Regions from separate parts of the Homo sapiens genome. Here regions 1 and 3 are each linked to region 2. Evidence: promoter capture Hi-C in human tissues and cell types (Jung and others, 2019). All regions are on one chromosome and are shown on one strand. Each heading gives the region's core, a stretch centred on a gene start or on the middle of the fragment in contact. The rest is flanking DNA. Distances are from core to core; before and after follow the strand shown. Region 1 has its middle 51 kb from the start of ELMO2. Region 2 holds the start of CD40 (CD40 molecule). Region 3 overlaps ELMO2 (engulfment and cell motility 2).

Region 1 (3,629 bases), core at 1,062-3,561, 340 kb after region 2:
AGGGTTTTTCCCCTGTGTGAATTCGCTCATGTTTTGTGAGGGCTGACTTTTCATAGAAGGTTTTCCCACACTCAGGACATCTGTAGGATTTTTCTCCTGAGTTCTCTGATGCACGACAAGGTTGGATTTCACATAGAAAGATCTCCAGCACTCATTACATTTATAGGGTTTCTCACCGTGTGTGAGTCCTTCAATGTTGAGTAAGGTTTGATTTCACACAGAAGGTTTTCTCACATTCATTGCATTTATATAGTTTCTCTCCCATGTGAGTTCTCCGATGTACTGTGAGGGCTGATTTCTGGCAGAAGGACTTTCCACGTTCATTACATTCATATGGTTTTTCTCCTGTGTGAGTTCTCTGATGTTCAGCGTAGTTGGACTTCACAAAGAAGGATTTTTCACATTCATTACATTCATAGGGTTTTCTTCCGTGTGTGTGTGCTCTGATGCTATCTGAGATCTGTTTTCTTACAGAAGCTTTCTCCACATTTATTGCAGTCATAGGTTTTCTCTTTTTTTGTGAGCTCTCTGGCTTTGTGTAAGTTGTGACTTCCTACTTGAGGCACCCCACTTTCATTACGCCCATTATTTTTTTTCCCCAAGTGCCTTCTCTGATGTTGAGTGTGTTTCAACTTCTCAAAGAAAGGTTTCTCACATTTATTACCTTTACAGTTTTTCTCTCTTGTTTTAATCTTGTTTTAATTCTCTGATTGGGAGTGAGGCAAGATTCCTTCAAGACTCTTTCACTATCATTACACTTGCTGGGTTTTCCTGTTGTGTGGGTTCTCTGATGTTGAGTAAGGCATGCTTTTTCATGAAAGAATTTCCCACATTTCTTACAATCATAGACTTTCTCTCCTGCATGAGTTCTCTCATTTTGAGTATGGTATAACTTCTTCAAGGCTTTCTCATTTTCTTTACACTCATCAGGTTTTTCTCCTGTGTACATTCTTTGATGTTGGGTAAAGTTTGATTTCTTGCTAAATTTTCCAAATTCATTACATTCATAGTGTTTCTCTCCTTCATAGTGTTGCCCGGGCAACACTGCGAGACTCCGTCTCAAAAAAAAAATACTGACAATACTTGTATAGTAGTTACTATATAACAGGACTTGTTCTAAGTACTTTGTATGTCTTCCTTCATTTAACCTTTAAAATAAAGCCAAGCATAGCTACTATTATGACTTCCATTTCATAGAATAGGAAAGCGAGGGGAAGACTGAGCAATGTGGTGGAGCTGGGCTTTGAACCCGGGCAATCCGGCCCCAGATCCATTCACTTGAGCACTGTGTTAATATTTTTCACTTTTAAAATGAGGCACAATTACATAACCGCTGAAAAGCTTCCCCGTACTCCTATAAAGTCAAGAGTAGGTAGTGGGTAGCATGTCCCTAAATTCCAGATGTGGAGATGGGTGGGGTTTGAGGGCTCTGCAGAAATCTAGGAAGAGGGGTTGAAGAATTAGGGGCATGGGAGGAGTTTCCGAGAGGAGTGGTGATAGTATCTTCCCCGTCATGCGCACCAGGTACTCACCTGGGAGTTCCTCCTCCCCCGCAGCCGGCCTCCTGCCCACCATCCTCAGTCCAGCTCGCCATCCTCAGCCCAGCTCACCTCTGTCCTGTGACAGCTGGCCCACACCTTCGTTGACCGACGGTTCTTGGCAACCTCCGACATGATGAGTTATTCAGGGCGGAAGAATCGGGAATTGCTTCAAGAGCAAGCGCTTACAGACTTGCCTGTTTTCCCAGACGTCCTTGGTGCAGCTGTGTGCGTTTTATCAGAGGGTGGGAACCTCCCAGGCGAGATTCCTGCTTCTGGCGTCCCCTCCTCACAGGAGCAGGGTGACCCTGGCTGGGGAGAGAGGGAATAAATTCAGATAACTGGGACCTTCAGCCGGTTCCAACTCTCTCTTGGAGTTCACTATCTCCTACAACAGAGGCTTTCAGTGTGGACCCTGGACTGGCAGCATCAGCATCACCTGGGAACTAAATAGAAAGGCAAATCCTTGGGGCTCTCCCCAGACCTACTGAATCAGAAACGCTGGGTGTGGGGCCCAGTCGTGGGGTGGGGTTTAACAGGCCCTTCAGGTGATACGGATGCATGCGAGTTTGAAAACCACTGCCTGCAAATCTCCCTTGGGAACCTGAGAACTGTGGAGGGCACAAACAGATGGACCTTGAGTTTCCCAGAGGCCTCAGTTACACAGTACCCCCAGGGTTCTGCAGAGATACCAAGAAATCTCCAAGATCCTTAAGGGAAGGCTCAGTCCTTACACACTCCGGTTGGCCCATAGAGACATGCCACTCTGCTAAGTGCTGTGAAGCATGCGATTTGGAAATAAAACTGAGGCTTGCATCCCAGATCCTTCACTTGCTAGCCATGTGACTTCACCTCCAGAGTCTTGGTTTTCTTCTCAGTTAAAATAGGGTGGGTAACACCGACTTTACAGGGGGTCTTTGAGAATCAAATGACACACCGAGTGAAAAGAACAGTGGGAAAGGCAGGCCGCATTTCCAGAGTGCTTAGAAAATGTCAGGACCTGTGCGGAGTGCTTTAGAGGTGCTCTCTTATTCAACACTCAGAACGACCCTGAAGCAGGTTTTAGAAATAACTTCATTTTACAGATGGGGAAATTGAGTCTTAGAGTTTAGGTTCATCACTGTGTTCATGGAGAGCCAGTGACAGACCTAGGATGTGAACTCGTCTTACTTTCAAACTCAGGCTCTGCATCTGCAATAAGGCTTGCTAAGGTAGGAATGATAGTACAGCATAAAGTAAACTTTGTAAGAATTGTTCTCATCCCCGCTGGAGTAGTGGGTTTGACCAGCTGATGAATGGTTGCCCAGGGCACCTGCGAGTTAGAGGAGCTTCTGGAAACAGCTCTTTTAACATGTGAATGCCTTTTCCCGGAGCCCTTTATTCTGATCAGGAAACCTGTTCCCTCCGCCCTTATCTTCTTCGTGGCACCTGCAGATCCGCAGCGGACCTCCTCCTCCGTCACTTGCTTTCTAGACGGACAGATGCAGGGCAGACTCGGGAACAAGTGCCAGAGGGTCTCAACCCGCGTGGGATTTGCGCAAGTTTTTGCTTCCACAGGCTGTGAACACAAACCTACCCCAAGCCCCGCAAAGCAACCCTCCAAGCTAGGCTCTCACCTGCGGAGCGCATCGTTAGTGCAGCACCTGGTCGCTGAGTTACGCGTAGACGCGGAGGCTCCACGCTGATCAGAGACAGGAGTAAGGAACAAGGAGGAAGTCTGCACATGCGCAGACGGGGCTGCCAAAGACCGGTTCCCGGGGCCCTGCCGGGGCGATCCATCAACTTCCAGACTCCGTTTCCCACAAGTCTCCGCGCCCCCTTCCTTAAGGAACGTCTGAAGAGTTTCTGGCTTACTTGGCAAGTTGGGGGATTTGTGGTCCAAAGTCATCTTTACTTTTATTTGGAGCCCTAGTTCCTCATAACCCACCAGGTAGGAGATTTGCATGCACTCCACTTACAATCAGTGTCACTTCAGAGGCAAAGCTACCGTGAGAAGGAAAGGAGTTTGTCAACTGCACATCTGAAAACAAAATTAATGAAAGCCAAGCAACATAGTGGAATATTTATAGAAAATAAAGCAAAGCAATAAGT
Region 2 (3,386 bases), core at 481-2,980:
GGATCACCTGAGGTCAGGAGTTTGAGACCAGCCTGGCCAACGTGGAGAAACCCCGTCTCTACTAAAAATACAAAAATTAGCTGGGCGTGGTGGCGCCAGCCTGTAATCCCAGCTACTCGGGAGGCTGAGGCAGGAGAATTGCTTGAACCCAGGAGGCAGAGGTTGCAGTGAGCCGAGATCATGCCACTGCACTCCAGCCTGGGCAACAGAATGAGACTCTGTCAAAAAAAACCCAAAAACCAAAAACCAAACAAACACCCAAAAAACAAAACGAAACAAAAAACAAAAAAACAAAAGCACGTCTTCAGAGTTCATGAACCCAGGAAATGTAGGCACAAGTGTGTGTGTTTCTGCAAAATGAGAGGGTCCCGAGTTTCCTAACATACTTAAAGTGTTTTATGATGCCACAAAAGGCTGGCCCACTCTTTTTTTTTTTTTGAGATGGAGTTTTGCACTGTCGCCCAGGCTGAAGTGCAGTGATGTAATCATTGCAATCATGGCTCACTGCAACCTTGACTTCTTGAGCTCAAGCGATCCTCCTGCCTCAGCCTCCTGAGTAGCTGGGACTACAGGTGTTTGCCACCATGCCTGGCTAACTTAAAAATTTCTTTATTTTGTAGAGATGGGGGTCTTGCCATGTTGCCAGGCTGGTCTTGAACTCCTGGCCTCAAGCAATCTCCCTTTTTGGCCTTCCAAAGTGTTAGATTACAGGCGTAAGCCACCGCGCCTGGCCCCCACCTTTATTTTTATTTTTATTTATTATTTATTTTTTTTTTTTTTGAGACTGAGTCTTGCTCTGCCTTCGAGGCTGGAGTGCAGTGGCACGATCTCGGCTCATTGCAATCTCTGCCTCTGCGGTTCAAGCGATTCTCCTGCCTCAGCCTCCCGAGTAGCTGGGATTACAGGCGAACGCCACTACATCCGGTTAATTTTTGTATTTTTAGTAGAGACGGAGTTTCACTATGTTGGCCAGGTTGGTCTCGAACTCCTGACCTCAAGTGATCTGCCCGCCTCGGCCTCCTAAAGTGCTGGATTACAGGCGTGAGCCACCGCGCCCGGCCCCACTCTTAATAAATGCCTGTCTCCAGGTGCTGGGTGGGAGGTGGGATGGAATGGAATGAGGTGAGGACGCATGGATGCATGGATGAATGGATGGGAAGTTGAGACGACGCGCCCACACGAGGGAATTTCCTTTGAAAGAGAGCGAAATTCTGAGTTGGGAAACTCTTCCTTGAAACGCCTCCCCATACCCCAGCTGTGGCCTTCCCGTTTTCTGCGTGGTGGTGTGGGGGGAACTTCCTCAGGCCTCTCCGCAGTGGAGCCTCTTTCGGTTCTGCCAGGATACCTAGAGGCAGCGGAGAGCGGGGCAGGGAGGGGAAAACCGTGAGGGTCCCTGTGGCAGGCCCCAGCACCCATGGGATCTCTCTCCGGTCGCAGGAAGCAGGCTAGCTCCTAGCCCGCCTCGGCTTGGCCTTTGTGGGACCTGGGGGCAAAGAAGAAGAGCTGTCTCTGGGACCATGCCTCCTCCCGTACACAGCAAGATGCGTCCCTAAACTCCCGGGGGAATTAGACTTGTGGGAATGTTCTGGGGAAACTCCTGCGCGGTGAATTGCTGGGGGCTCCGCCCCCCCGATAGGTGGACCGCGATTGGTCTTTGAAGACCCCGCCCCTTTCCTGGGCGGGGCCAAGGCTGGGGCAGGGGAGTCAGCAGAGGCCTCGCTCGGGCGCCCAGTGGTCCTGCCGCCTGGTCTCACCTCGCTATGGTTCGTCTGCCTCTGCAGTGCGTCCTCTGGGGCTGCTTGCTGACCGCTGTGAGTTGTTTTTGCCCCGACCAGACGGGAGTTGGGAGTGGGGAATGAGAAGGAAAGGGAAGGAAGACTTCGGGGAAGAGGCCTTCCTGGCTGATTTTTGTGGGGGCAGGAGGGTGGGTGGGAGCTGGGCAAGGTGCCCCCGCTCCTGGCTGAATGGGGTGGGCTGCCTCTCTCTTCTCCCGGGCTGGGGTCCCGGGAGCGGCCTACAGGGGCCGCTCAGGGAAGGCACTGGCTGCCCAAGCGTGCCTAGACGGCCTGGACGGGTTTAGGGAGCCTCAGAGGCTGGCCACACAGAGACTGGTAGGGGGTTCAGAGGGCGGGAAGTGAGGCGGACCAAGGGAAGGGGCGGGTCTGGCCCGTTTCCTGTCCCCTTCTTATTGTGGACAGATGCCAGCCTCTGTAAGTAGTTATCATCTCCTTGCCAGCTGGGGCTGCCTTCTTCCAGGGCATCTTGTGGGAACAAGAGATGGGTGCAGAGGCCCAGGTACTTTTGTGAGAAGGCAAGGAGCTTTTAACATCGCCTTCCACCCCGAACCGTATCTTGGGTGTTCCAACCTAGGAGGAATCCCCAGGGCTTTGCCTTTTTCTCCTGAATTTAAGATGACATAGGAGACCCCTGGGGAGATGAACAGTTTATGGGACACAATAAAGGGTTAGGAGACCAGAGTTCTGGTTGGCTCTGACAGGGCTGGTGATCAGAGGGCTGGAGAAACCAGGGGTTTCTCCAGGCACCAGAGGGGCTCAGAGCCAACCAAGCATATCTCCGGGATTTTCAGAAGCCTACACTTGACTCACTTTTTGTTTAAATGTATTTTTGTAGTTCCTCATTCTGGAGGCTGGGAATCCCCCAAGTACCTGGCTCCTTCATCCCAGCCCCTCTGGCCTCCCCCTACTTTAGAGGGCTGTAGATTCCTGCCTGAAGCCTGGGCAGGAATGACCCATGGTATCAAGGAAAGCAAGGGAAGCAGCAAGGGAAGAGAGGGAGTGGGGAGGCTGCTTTGGTCCCACAGCTTTCACTTTCACCTGAAGCAATGGCTCTTAGGGAACAGGGAGGCAGGGGGAGGGCGGAGCTGGAAAGAGGTAAAGGGGGGCCCTTGTGGTAGGAGTGGAGAAAGAGCCAGAGGAGGTGGGGTGAAGGGTGTGATCCAGGCTTCTCAAGAGCAGAGTTTGCCCTCATAACTCCCAACTTTGGCTCCAGGTAGAGGCTGGGCTGTGACAACAATGTCAGAAGCTATCTATTGAGGGCTTCTTGTGTGTCAGGCTCTGAGCCAAACACTGCCTGTTTTCTTTGTCTGATTTCTCACAACTCCCCCATTATACAGATGGGCAAATTGAGGCTCAGAAAGGGGGATTGTCTTGCCAAAGGTCTCATAGCTAGCTAATGGAAGAACCTGGTTGTGAATCTACATCTGCATGATTCCCGAGCCTGCCTCTCAGATAGTGAGAGTCTCCAAGCTCTGGTCCTGAGCTGTTTTGTGGCAGAAGGACCAGAACTATGGGGAGTGAGAACTGGAGATTGACAGACTTTTAGGGGAGCGTTTTATTTCTCATGTGTTTGAAGATGGTATCAAGGAC
Region 3 (3,485 bases), core at 67-2,566, 290 kb after region 2:
CATAAATAAGGGAACTGAAGTCCAGAGAAGCTGGCAAGGCCATGCCACCAGTTAGGGACAAAAGAAGGCCTAGGCCCCCACTTCTGGTTTAGTCCTCCTCCTGCAGCACAGCTTTGCCACAAACACAAGCCTTTCTGGACCTCAGGTCCTGATCTACATCGGGGGCTGGACTAGATGTTTTTGAGCTTTCTTCCAACTTTGGCCTTCTAGTGAGGAAGTGTAGCTTAACAAGTTAGGAGCTGTGTTCTGGAGTGGGAAAGGCCTGAACTTGGATCTTAGCACTAACGATTTTCTTACCTGTAAAATGGGGATTAGCATCAACTCTACCCCGTAAAGCTGTTGTGAGCATCAAGTGGGATAATAAAGCACTAAGCATAATAGCAGAATTCTAACCGTGTGAACCTGAAGAAACTGCAAAAGCTCTGAAACCACGTTTCCCCAACACAGTAAGCCCTACCTGCTAGGCAGGTATGTTGTGTATTGTTGACAAAATAAGAGAGCATATGTGAAGGCAGTCCGGGAGGAAAGTCAATACAAAAGGCAAAGCATTTGTTGGTGTTCCACTATTATTATTACTATTTCCCAGTGGAAGAACTTTGGAAAATGTTATGATCAGTTCCAAAGCAGCAGCTAATACAATGCCTGGCAAATAAGAAGTGCTCAACAAATATTTTCTAGTGACTCACATGAAACCAGCATAGCATGCCTAATAGGGTTATAAATTCAAATGTCTTGGGCAGCCAAGCAGGTAAGTAAATAAAACAAGCAGCCTCCATGTAGGGTCTGTAACACTGCAAAGTACCACCTTGCCTAGAGGAGTTTAAATCCAACATTTTTAAAAACACATCATGCAGCTTGGCCAAGACAGCCACTTTGCAGCCTCCAGCCCATACTGATTCTGGCTCTTCATTACACCTCATGATGCCTTGCATACCATCTAGTCATTTTATGTGATCCAGTCTTGTCTTTCCAAGTATACCTGAAGCATCCTGAAGATGAAGGCTATGACATACACCGCCCAATCACCAAAAATGGCTTACAACAGTGCTGGTCACGTGGTAGATACTCAGTGAGCAATTGCTGAACTGGGGCTGTAGGCCGGGCGCCGTGGCTCACGCCTGTAATCTCAGAACTTTGGGAGGCTGAGGTGGGCGGGTCACTTGAGATCAGGAGTTCAATACCAGCCTGGCCAACATGGTGAAACCCCGTCTCTACTAAAAATACAAAAATCAGCCGGGCACGGTGGCAGGCACCTGTAATCCCAGCCACTCAGGAGGCTGAGGCACAAGAATCGCTTGAACGTGGGAGGTGGAGGTTGCAGTTAGCCGAGATGGCACCATTGCACTCCAGCCTGGGCGACAAGAGTAAAACTCCATCTCAAAAAAAAAATAGAAAAGCCAGGCTATAAACTCAAGCCTAGTATTCTCAGCACCTCTGAGATGCTGCATGGTATGTGTTTTTTTCTATCCAGGTCCTGGGACCAGACTTAGTCCAGGCTGGGCCGAGGTATGGTGACCAGGTCAAAGGACTTGCCTTGCAGGGTTTTCTTCAACTGCATCAAATATGCTTCTTGCTGAGCCACCTTGGCAGGTGGTACTGCTACATCTGGACACATTATCTGAGCACAGAACAAGCTAGAATATGCTGTACACTGAAGTTTTTAAAGAAGTTTGGTCCTGACTTCCTGTACCCTCAAACTTCCTTTGCACCTCCTAGAGTCCACATCAGATATATAGAAAGACCAGACTGAAGATGAACAGATAGAGGTCCTAATCTCACCTCCTCCACTTACAAACTCTAGAATTATCCCCGGCAGGCAACCTCTTTTAGAAGCTTCACTATCGATATCAGTAAAGTGCAGATAACAACAGTTATCTCAAAAGACTCTAGAGGGTATACAAAGTGTGTGACACTGTACAGCCCAATACCACAATCCCTGGCCATAGGTGGTTACTAAGCACTTGAAAAGTGGCACAGGCTGCCCTCTGTGTAAAATACAAACCAGGTTTCAAAAACTTAGTACAAAAAACAAGAACGTAAAATATCCCATTAATAATGTTTTAATATTGATTATGTTATAATAATATAATTTTGGAATATATTGTGTTAAATATATTACTAAAATAATTTCAGCTGTTCCATTTTTTAATGTGGCTACTAGAAAATTTAAAATTATATCTATGGCTCACATTACATTTCTATTAGACAGCAGCATCACTCTAGCATAGAGCCTGGCACACAAAAAGCATTCCAAATGTCAGTTTCATTCCCCTGCAGGTAGGACATCAGTGACCACGATTCACATCCCCTTCCTCTTGCCAAATTCAAACCCTGCATCTATTTATTTGGTAAATATTTATATTGCCTGGCCCTGTGTGAGATGCTAGAGATACTACATGAAGCAAAACCGACACTATCTTCTTCGTGGACCTTACAATCTGGTGGGATGGACAGAGAAATATCAATACTTTTGTAAATAAATGTAAAATTGCAGTTGTGCAAGTGTTGTTAAGGACAAGTACCCAGGGTGATAAACGTGGGGTACTGGTCGAAAAGTCAGGGACAGGGATGCCTCCCCTGCAGAAGTGATGCTTAAGCGGAGATCTGAAGGATGAAGAAGAGTTTACAAGACTAAGCCAGGGGAGGAAGAGCAGACCAGGGAGGAGGAATACTAAATAAAAGGCCCCAAGGAAGGCAGGAGCTTGGGATGTAGAAGGAACAGAAAGAGGCCAGTGTGTGGAGAGCACTGAGCAAGCGGACGGACGAGTAGACAGACTTGGGAGAGGTCAGCGGGACCGGATCTCCAGGGCCTGGGTGAGGTTCTGGATCTGACCCTACAAAGGGGTGGGACGCCGGGCCAGTTTCATGCCCTAAGCATCCAGATCTGCTCTGCATTTCTCGGCTGGGCGCGGTGGCTCACGCCTGTAATCCCAGCACTCTGGGAGGCCGAGACGGGCGGATCACTTGAGGTCAGGAGTTCGAGACCAGCCTAACACGGTGAAACCCCGTCTCTACTAAAAATACAAAAATTAGCTGGGCGTGGTGGCAGGCGCCCGTAATCCCAGCTACTTGGGAGGCTGAGGCAGGAGAATAGCTGGAACCTGGGAGGCGGAGGTTGCTGTGAGCCGAGATCGCGCCATTGCACTCCAGCCTGGGCGGCAGAGCGAGACTCCGTCTCGGAAAGGTTTCAAAAAAAAAGGAAAGGTTTCTCTGGGCACGGTGCAAGGCCGACAGGAGAAGGGCCCCTGTGCCTGCGCAGGGCAGACCAGTTAACACACTGCAACTGCCCAGGCAGGAAGCGAGAGGGGCCTGAACTCAAGGGTGAGCGCAGGAGGTGGAAAGTACATGCACCGGGGTGCTACTGAGCCAGCAGGATCCACGGGGCGGACTGGTGGACGCGGGCAGCCGGGTCCAGGTTGAGCATGACCCCGGGCTTTCAACTCGTGCGGGCCCGCCCCGAGCGCTCTCCGGCTTCTTCCCAGCCC

Evidence for each region. Contacts are between HindIII fragments. The study calls those that stand out against the background at their distance.
Region 1: a fragment that was not itself captured here is called in contact with the fragment with the promoter of CD40 in region 2 in 2 of the 25 tissues and cell types used here (dorsolateral prefrontal cortex and lymphoblastoid cells).
Region 3: a contact is called between a fragment that was not itself captured here and the fragment with the promoter of CD40 in region 2, in 1 of the 25 tissues and cell types used here (lymphoblastoid cells).

Annotation. Positions count from the first base shown.
Region 1 is chr20:46,456,065-46,459,693 of GRCh38, forward strand. It overlaps the pseudogene ZNF663P. Among named protein-coding and RNA genes, the nearest start is that of ELMO2, 51 kb to the left of the region's middle. RefSeq lists enhancers at 2,574-3,114, 3,115-3,629. The HindIII fragment of the contact is 4,421 bases long and covers 102-3,629 here.
Region 2 is chr20:46,116,584-46,119,969 of GRCh38, forward strand. It overlaps CD40 (CD40 molecule), which reads left to right and starts at 1,731. Exons shown (of 9, transcript NM_001250.6): 1 at 1,731-1,811. The coding sequence starts at 1,761. RefSeq lists a cis regulatory region at 913-3,010, enhancers at 952-1,768, 1,534-1,593, 2,604-2,953 and a silencer at 1,510-1,729. The HindIII fragment of the contact is 12,179 bases long and covers 1-3,386 here.
Region 3 is chr20:46,402,706-46,406,190 of GRCh38, forward strand. All of the region lies in intron 1 of ELMO2 (engulfment and cell motility 2), which reads right to left. Among named protein-coding and RNA genes, the nearest start is that of ELMO2, 2.2 kb to the right of the region's middle. RefSeq lists an enhancer at 3,091-3,485 and a silencer at 3,348-3,485. The HindIII fragment of the contact is 5,740 bases long and covers 1-3,485 here.